2 separate regions of the Homo sapiens genome follow, and region 2 is linked to region 1. Evidence: promoter capture Hi-C in human tissues and cell types (Jung and others, 2019). All regions are on one chromosome and are shown on one strand. The core of a region is centred on a gene start or on the middle of the fragment in contact, and the rest is flanking DNA. Distances in the headings are between cores, read along the strand shown.

Region 1 (4,021 bases), core at 443-2,942:
AGATTGAAATGACCACTTCCTTCAGTGCTTGGAGGAATTAGCTGTTTGTGCCCTTTGAGCCCAGAGAATGTTTTGTGGGAAGATTTTCAATTCCTGATTCCATTTCTTTAATAGCTTTAGAATGACTTTCTATTTTTTATTTATTTGTGCACCCTGGTCAGTTAGATTTTTAAGAAATTCATCCATTTCCTCTAAACTAAATTTTTGGCATAAGGTTCTTATCATTTTCTTTTTGGTGTCTGCAGGCTCTGCAACTGGTTATATGTACCTTTTTCCTTTTTTCTTTTCTTTTTTTTTTTTTCTGGGACAGAGTCCTACTCTGTCACTCAGACTGGGGTGCAGTGGTGCAATCTTGGCTCACTGTAACCTCGGCCTCCCAGGTTCAAGCAATTCTCCTGCCTCAGCCTCCCAAGTAGCTGGGATTACAGGCATGTGCCACCATGCCTGGGTAATTTTTGTATTTTTTTTAGTAAAGACAGGGTTTTACCATGTTGTCCAGGCTGCTCTAGAACTCTTGACCTCAAGTGATCCCCCCGCCTCAGCCCCTTTTTTCTTTTTTTTTTCATTTTCAGTTCAGGAGAGTTTTAGCTTAATTATAGGCTACAGAACCAGCTTTGGGCTTCATCTATCCTTTCTAATATTTACTGTTTCCTATTTCTCTAATCCTAGCTCTTTATTTCTTCCCTTTACTTTCACTGGGCTTATTTTGCTATAGTGGAATGCAGAGGGATGAGTATTCCAGGAAGGCACAAAAACTGTGCCAAGTCTTGGAGCTAGGGATGAGTGGGAAAGGGACATGTTCAACCATTTTAAGCCATTCCCTCCCCACCTCCCAGCTCCCAGATATGTGCCCCTCGCAGGAGGAGCCCAGGAATGGGCCAAACACCTCACTTCTTTGCTCTGAGGGCCACCCCAGCCCTCCCATCAACAGCTCTAGAAACCCAATGGTCCTTCCTGGAAACACGGGGCCTGCATCAATCAGAGGTGTTTGAACCATGTCCCTCTGGGCCTGAGGGGCAGAAGGGGACACAATATGTAATGTAAGGAGCCCCTGTCATCAGAAATCTGACTTAATCTGTTTCAGATATTAGACTTCCACATAAAAGTTGACTTGGAAAAAGACTTCTGCTGCTAAACAAAAGTTGAAACTGCCTTGGTGATAAAATATAAGCAGACCAGCTTTCTCTTCTAGCTTTCCCTCTCATTTCCCATAAGATTTTGGTCAAGTTATTTAATCTCTCTGCATCCGTTTCCTCTTCTATGAAATGGGCATGATAATAATGGTATGTACCTCCTCAAACTAAATATATAACGTGAACAGAGTCCTTAGCACAGCACTCTTTCTCTACAGGAGTTAATTTTCATTGTTTTTCTCTTTCCTGTTGGAGAAAGTAAGAAGAAAACAGCTCCTTTATGGCTTCCCATGGTGAATGGCTGGGGCGCGTCTGTGTCCCTTTCTCCTCTCTGGCTCCTTGTGGCCTGAACAGCCAGAAGGAAGCCATGCCATGCTGTTTCAGCCCTCAGCTTCCCTCTTGCATTTCCTAGAAAAGTCTTTGGTGCCCAGCTCCAGCTCAGCAGATTCAGGATCCCCCTTCATCATGACTTGGTCAACGCCCTGCTCAGGCCAAGGTCCTCTGAGAGTTCCAAGCTTCTCCACTCCCTATAAAAGGCCGGCGGAACAGCCAGAGGAGCAGAGAGGCAAAGAAACATTGTGAAATCTCCAACTCTTAACCTTCAACATGAAAGTCTCTGCAGTGCTTCTGTGCCTGCTGCTCATGACAGCAGCTTTCAACCCCCAGGGACTTGCTCAGCCAGGTAAGTCACCTCCCTTCGACTCTCCCTCTCTTTCCCTCTGTTTCTCTATTCAAGGAAGACCTAAGCCCGAGTGCTCCTCCACTTTTTTTTTAGATTGAGTCTCATTATGTTGCCCAGGCTGAAGTGCAGGGGTGCGATCTTGGCTCATTGCAACCTTCACCTCCCAGGTTCAAGCGATTCTCTTGCCTCAGCCTTCTGAGTAGCTGTGATTACAGGCACCCGCCATCACGTGCAGCTAATTTTTGTATTTTTAGTAGAGAAGGGGTTTCACTATGTTGGCCAGGCTGGTCTCAAACTCTTGACCTCAAGTGATCCTCCCGTCTCGGCCTCCCAAAGTGCTGGGATTACAGGCGTGAGCCACCAGGCCCAGCCAAGTGCCCCACTTCTAAGCCCACCAGAATAGTAAGGCTCCTCAGAGGTTCACTTTAACATCTAATTTTAAAGATAGAAAGCTGAAGCCCATGTTGGAGGCAGAAGGGACCCTAGCCATCCACCTCCAGGTTATTGCAGAGCAAGAATGAAACCTAAGCTTCTGACTCCAGATTTAGGGCCTTTTCTTTGACCTCATCTGATCGTCCCAAACTCTGCAGATCTGGGACCACACCCAGGACCTTTCCCACTGGCCTTGCCCGTGGCCTCCCCTAGATGGCTGTGACATGTCTCCACCATGCAGCTGAGCCTTTGAGATCCTGAGGCACATGTCACAGGTCCCACCTCACCTCAGGGTCTAGGGTGGGAGTGCTGGGCTTGGGGGTGAGTAAGATCTATTTCTTCCTCTTTGCTTTGCATCCCATACAGATGCTCCCTGCTGTATTCAAGCTGAGAAAAGCCTAACACATCCTCAAAGTCTTTTTCTTTGTAACTATTTCTAGATGCACTCAACGTCCCATCTACTTGCTGCTTCACATTTAGCAGTAAGAAGATCTCCTTGCAGAGGCTGAAGAGCTATGTGATCACCACCAGCAGGTGTCCCCAGAAGGCTGTCATGTGGGTAGAAAAATCCCTGCTCACCTGGCTCCTCCCCACTCCCACATTCCCCAATCCAAAGTTCTGCCCCAGGAGACAGACGTCAGACTGACTTGAGATCTTAGGATGAGATCTAGCCAGACTGTGTGATGCAAATCCTCCAATTTTGGCTGCACAACAGGTCCAAAGAGGACCTATAATTTCCCACACCTTGTTTCCTGGATGGGCACCAGCCCACACCCTTTAGCAGATGCCAGGATCAGTTTCCCAGGGGCAGCAAGAGCAGTGGCTGCCTCCAGAGACCCCTTCTGTCCACACACCTCCTACTTCCTGTCCTGGAGGGGTGCCCCTTCACCTGTAGTAGGTGGACCAGGCAGGTTTAGAACCCAGTGTGTCATCTCCTGGGTAAACCCTCAAAGGGTTCCATCTAACTGTGCCAGATCTCCTTCCTCCACAGCTTCAGAACCAAACTGGGCAAGGAGATCTGTGCTGACCCAAAGGAGAAGTGGGTCCAGAATTATATGAAACACCTGGGCCGGAAAGCTCACACCCTGAAGACTTGAACTCTGCTACCCCTACTGAAATCAAGCTGGAGTACGTGAAATGACTTTTCCATTCTCCTCTGGCCTCCTCTTCTATGCTTTGGAATACTTCTACCATAATTTTCAAATAGGATGCATTCGGTTTTGTGATTCAAAATGTACTATGTGTTAAGTAATATTGGCTATTATTTGACTTGTTGCTGGTTTGGAGTTTATTTGAGTATTGCTGATCTTTTCTAAAGCAAGGCCTTGAGCAAGTAGGTTGCTGTCTCTAAGCCCCCTTCCCTTCCACTATGAGCTGCTGGCAGTGGGTTTGTATTCGGTTCCCAGGGGTTGAGAGCATGCCTGTGGGAGTCATGGACATGAAGGGATGCTGCAATGTAGGAAGGAGAGCTCTTTGTGAATGTGAGGTGTTGCTAAATATGTTATTGTGGAAAGATGAATGCAATAGTAGGACTGCTGACATTTTGCAGAAAATACATTTTATTTAAAATCTCCTACACAGTGGTGTTTTCTTCAGGAGTAACTGCCAACCAGTAGGGGCTCTCAGAGGTGTGGGTGGATGGCATGCCAGTGGAAGGCAGATGTACAGAGGCCCTGGCCATGGGGCTAGCCTGGCTCATCTGAGTTTCAAGGAGGGCCTGCCTCACCAGCCCAGGCTGTTCTGGAACAATGGCTCCAGTCCCCAGCATGGGCGC
Region 2 (4,021 bases), core at 458-2,957, 33 kb after region 1:
CCTTTAATCCAAGATCTTTTTCCCATGGTCTGAGGCGTGGAAAGAGAAGAGGGACATTTAGCTGGACTAAGCCCCTACTCTGTGCCCAGGACCAGGCTGCAATAAGCTTTACCTCCTGCTATCTCTCTTGCCTCCAAGAACCCAACAGTGCAGGGGGTAGCACCCCCCAGGCACAGCTGAGAAGCCTGTCGCTAGATACAGGCCAGAGTGGGGATTTAAACACAGACTAATGGCATGCTTAGCTCCACGCTTTTCCTTTCAGGCAGGTAAAGCATCATGCTGCGGCACTGGGGTTGCCAGTAGCCACTTCCATCAATTATGTGTGACCTTGGGCAACCAACTCGTCTCTTTGGGGCTCAGTTTCCATGGCTATAAACCATCACCTACAGCATATGGTGTTGAGAGGATTGAAGGAGCTAGAGCTGAGCCTGGCTCAGAGCTGGCACTCAGTTTGTGCCACCTGTGGAGCTTGTATTCATCTCAAGAAAAGCCATGCCTCAGGAGAACAGAAGAAAACATGCCGTTCCCAGCCCACATTGGTGGTAGTGGAGAGGGCACTGGGCTTGGAGTTCAGAGACCTGAATGGGAGCCCAGGTCAACACCTTCCTAGGGCTGTGATCTTGGATGAGTCACTAGACTCCTCCAAACCTCAGTGTCCTCATCTCTGCAGTGAAGATAATGGCTGGGAATAATACCGGTATTCCTAAAGCTTTGGAAGGCTGAGGCAGCAGGATTGCTTGAGGCCAAGAGTTTGAGATCAGCCTGGGCAACAAGCAAGACTCTATCTCTACAAAAAAATTTAAAAATTAGCTGAGTGTAGTGGCACATGCCTGTAGTCCTAGCTACTCAGGAGACTGAGGCAGGAGAATCACTTGAGCCCGAGAATTCAAGGCTGGAGTGAGCTAGAATCACACCATTGCACTGAAGCCTGGTATCACAGCAAGATCCTGTCTCAAAATAAAATAAAATAAAATAAAATAAGGACGGGCCGGGCTCATGCCTGTAATCCCGGCACTTTGGGAGACCAAAGCGGAGGCATCAGTTGAGGCCAGGAGTTTGAGACCAGCCTGGCCAACATGGAGAAACCCTGTCTCTACAAAAAATACAAAAATTAGCCAGGCGTGGTGCACACCTGTAATCCCAGCTACTCGGGAGCCTGCGGTACGAGAATCGCTTGAACCCAAGAGGCAGAGGTTGCAGTGAGTCAAGATTGCACCACTACACTCCAGCCTGGGCAAGAGGGAGACTCCATCTCACAAATAAATACATAAATAAAATAAAACAAAATAAGGATAATGACTCTCCTGACTGCACAGGATCATGGTGGAGGGACATCGTGGAGATGACAGCACCTAGCAGGGATCGGGGGGAGCAGAGACCAGGAGGCACGGACTGGCCTTTCCCCGTGGTGGCAGGGACTGATCCACTGGTGGCCAGTGACAGGGAGAGGGGAAGGAGCATGGGAGAAGATGCAGATACCCAGAAAGATCCAAACCTCTACCGCAAAGTCAAGGTAGACATTTCCCCAGCCCCGGGGAGTGAGCCTGATATGCATGGAGCAAAGGTAAATGGGGAGGCTATCAGGCTGGGGTCTCTGTCCTTTTCTTTGTCACCCTCTGCTCAAGGCAGCCACTAGGGAGCTGACTGGCCACAGGGACTTTCTTGCCATGTAATCCTGGGGAAAGCTGCTCACCCACTTTGTTCCTTCTCTTTTTGTTGTCCACACTAGGAGACAGTGATTCTCGCCAAGCTCCTGTGTGGGCAGGATGAGAACGAGGAGGAATAAACCACTCAGAAGGAAAGAGATGGAAGATCACATAAATAACCACCCAGTGGGGCATTCAACAGTATCTCCCTGGCTGAGGGGTGGGGGTAAGGGCACATCACAGGAAGGTGTGACAGAGGAGGACCAAACCACAGAGACGAAAATTAGCAACAAGGCTGGGAAGGGAAACCCTTGTGGGTAAAACTTTGCCTCCACCTCAGCAGCATACATGGGGAGGCAGAGCTGCTGTAGGGCAAAGTGGGTGTGGGTGGCGGTTCCTCAGCCCCCTGCTCTCTCCCAGCTTCCATCTGGTCTGCGTGAAACCAGAATGGAATTGGAGGGCATGAAAGATTTGGGATAATAGACCATTTGTGTCTTTCCTAGCTGTATGGCTATAAGCAAGACCTCACCTTCTTGAGCTTTCATTTTCTCATCTCTGAGATGGAAAGGTGATATCTACCTTACTGAGTAGTTGGGAGGAGAAAATACAGCTGTAAGAATAGTAACTACTGTTACATGCTGGGGTGCATGCAATTTCATTAAACTTTCACGACAACTCTATCCAATGAATGTTTTCATATCCATTTACAGAGAAGGAGACAGACTCAGAGAAGTTAAGTGATTTTCCTATGACAAACAGCTGATAAACAGCAGGATTAATGTCAGGCCCAAGGGTTGTCAGACTTCATCCACACGTTGGAGCCTGACATAACGTAACTGATAAATAATGATTCATTCACCCCTCCAAAATCCCTTCCCTGGTTCCTACTCCATTCCCAGTGGCTGCCTGTGGCTGGGCTCACTCCTCGGTCTTGGTCCAGGACTGTGGTTTCTGTGCAGGCTGCCAGTGAAGAAGTCTAGGCCTGTGATCCACTTACTCCTGATATCACCTCTCCCTGGAAGTGGCTCCTCAATTTGACCCCACACGCTGATGACAAATACTTAGGGAGGTGATCTAGCAGGAGGAGGTCTAGTGATACAGGATGCATTCATATCTATGATCTTGAGCCCAGGCTGCCTTCATGTAGCTTCTTTTGTCTGCTGCTGTACAGAGGTGGGAGATCATGAACCCAAAAAGGAGACAGTTGAAGGTGTGGAACCCAATGCTGCATCAGGAGAGTTCATTGCAAAGATCACTCGTGACCTAATCCTCCCCTGAAGAAAACAAGCAGCCACTGGTCTTTACCCTTGAAGTCTCTCTGCTTTCCCTGACAGGATATTGCAAGAATGCTTTGGGATGGAGGGACGAAGGGTGATGGGCTTTCACCAAGCCCCTGCTGTCTGCCAGGGGTTACAATAGGAACTTGACGTGAGTCTCTTCATTGAGGTGCCTCAGCAGTCCTGAAGGACAGGCATGGTATATTCTTAAAAGAAAGCACTCAGGCTCAAGGAAGTTTGTCAAAGTGCCAAAAGCCACCTAGCTGGTAAGGGTCATCAAGGCCCGTCTGACTTCATGTCCACGCTCTTTCCTTTCCACCAGGGCCCCAGTGGATCCGCCTGGTTACCATGGGAGACCAGTGCTTCAGACCAGCCATGCCAAGGTAGGTGGACCTTGCTTGGTGATGTTCTTCATTGTAGACCTTCCTGCAGATTTCAGTCTCCTTTTCATCTTGAGCCCCAACATGACTGTATCCACAGATCACCTATCTGACATGTTTCCTGAGCACTCACTCATTACGCCCAAGGCCCTGTTCTAGAAGCTGGGCAAGGTTATAACATGAAGACTGAGAATCTGTCTTCAGAGAATTTAGCAGAGAAGAAAGATCTAAGGAAAATGGGACCATAGTGCCAGGGGGGTACGAGTGAAATGCCTTGAGCAATTGAGGGGACAGACAGATCACCACCTCTCTGGTGGGAAGGGAATAGCCAAAGAGGTACAGGTCAAGCCAAGCATCTGATTGATAGCTTAGTGTTCAGAGTTGGAAGGGATCTCAAAGGTTTTCTGACCCAAACCTCTCATTTTCTACATGAGAAAACGGAGGCCCAGAGGGGAGGGTCATTTGCATAAAGCCACATGACATATGGTCAGCATCAAAGCCAGGTGAGGACCAGGTTCCCTGACTCAGCACTACCTTTGTTCCTCATATGCCCCCAAGCAAGGCTGACAGGTAATCTAGCAAGTGGAGCCCGGTGCAAATCCACTGCCATAACTGTAAGAACTCAGCATGCTTAACATGCCAGCCTTCTGTATCAACTAAAATTGGATTCAGCTGCACAAAGAAACCCAAAACAATCCTAGCTTAAGCATGAGAGGAG

Evidence for each region. The method cuts DNA at HindIII sites, captures the fragments that hold promoters and counts their contacts. A contact is called where the count stands out against the background at its distance.
Region 2: a contact is called between a fragment that was not itself captured here and the fragment with the promoter of CCL13 in region 1, in 1 of the 25 tissues and cell types used here (spleen).

The regions. Positions count from the first base shown.
Region 1 is chr17:34,354,788-34,358,808 of GRCh38, forward strand. CCL13 (C-C motif chemokine ligand 13) reads left to right here and starts at 1,693. Exons shown (of 3, transcript NM_005408.3): 1 at 1,693-1,815; 2 at 2,688-2,802; 3 at 3,239-3,823. The coding sequence starts at 1,740. The coding sequence ends at 3,344. The HindIII fragment of the contact is 2,821 bases long and covers 766-3,586 here.
Region 2 is chr17:34,387,622-34,391,642 of GRCh38, forward strand. No RefSeq gene overlaps it. Among named protein-coding and RNA genes, the nearest start is that of CCL1, 26 kb to the left of the region's middle. The HindIII fragment of the contact is 4,930 bases long and covers 1-4,021 here.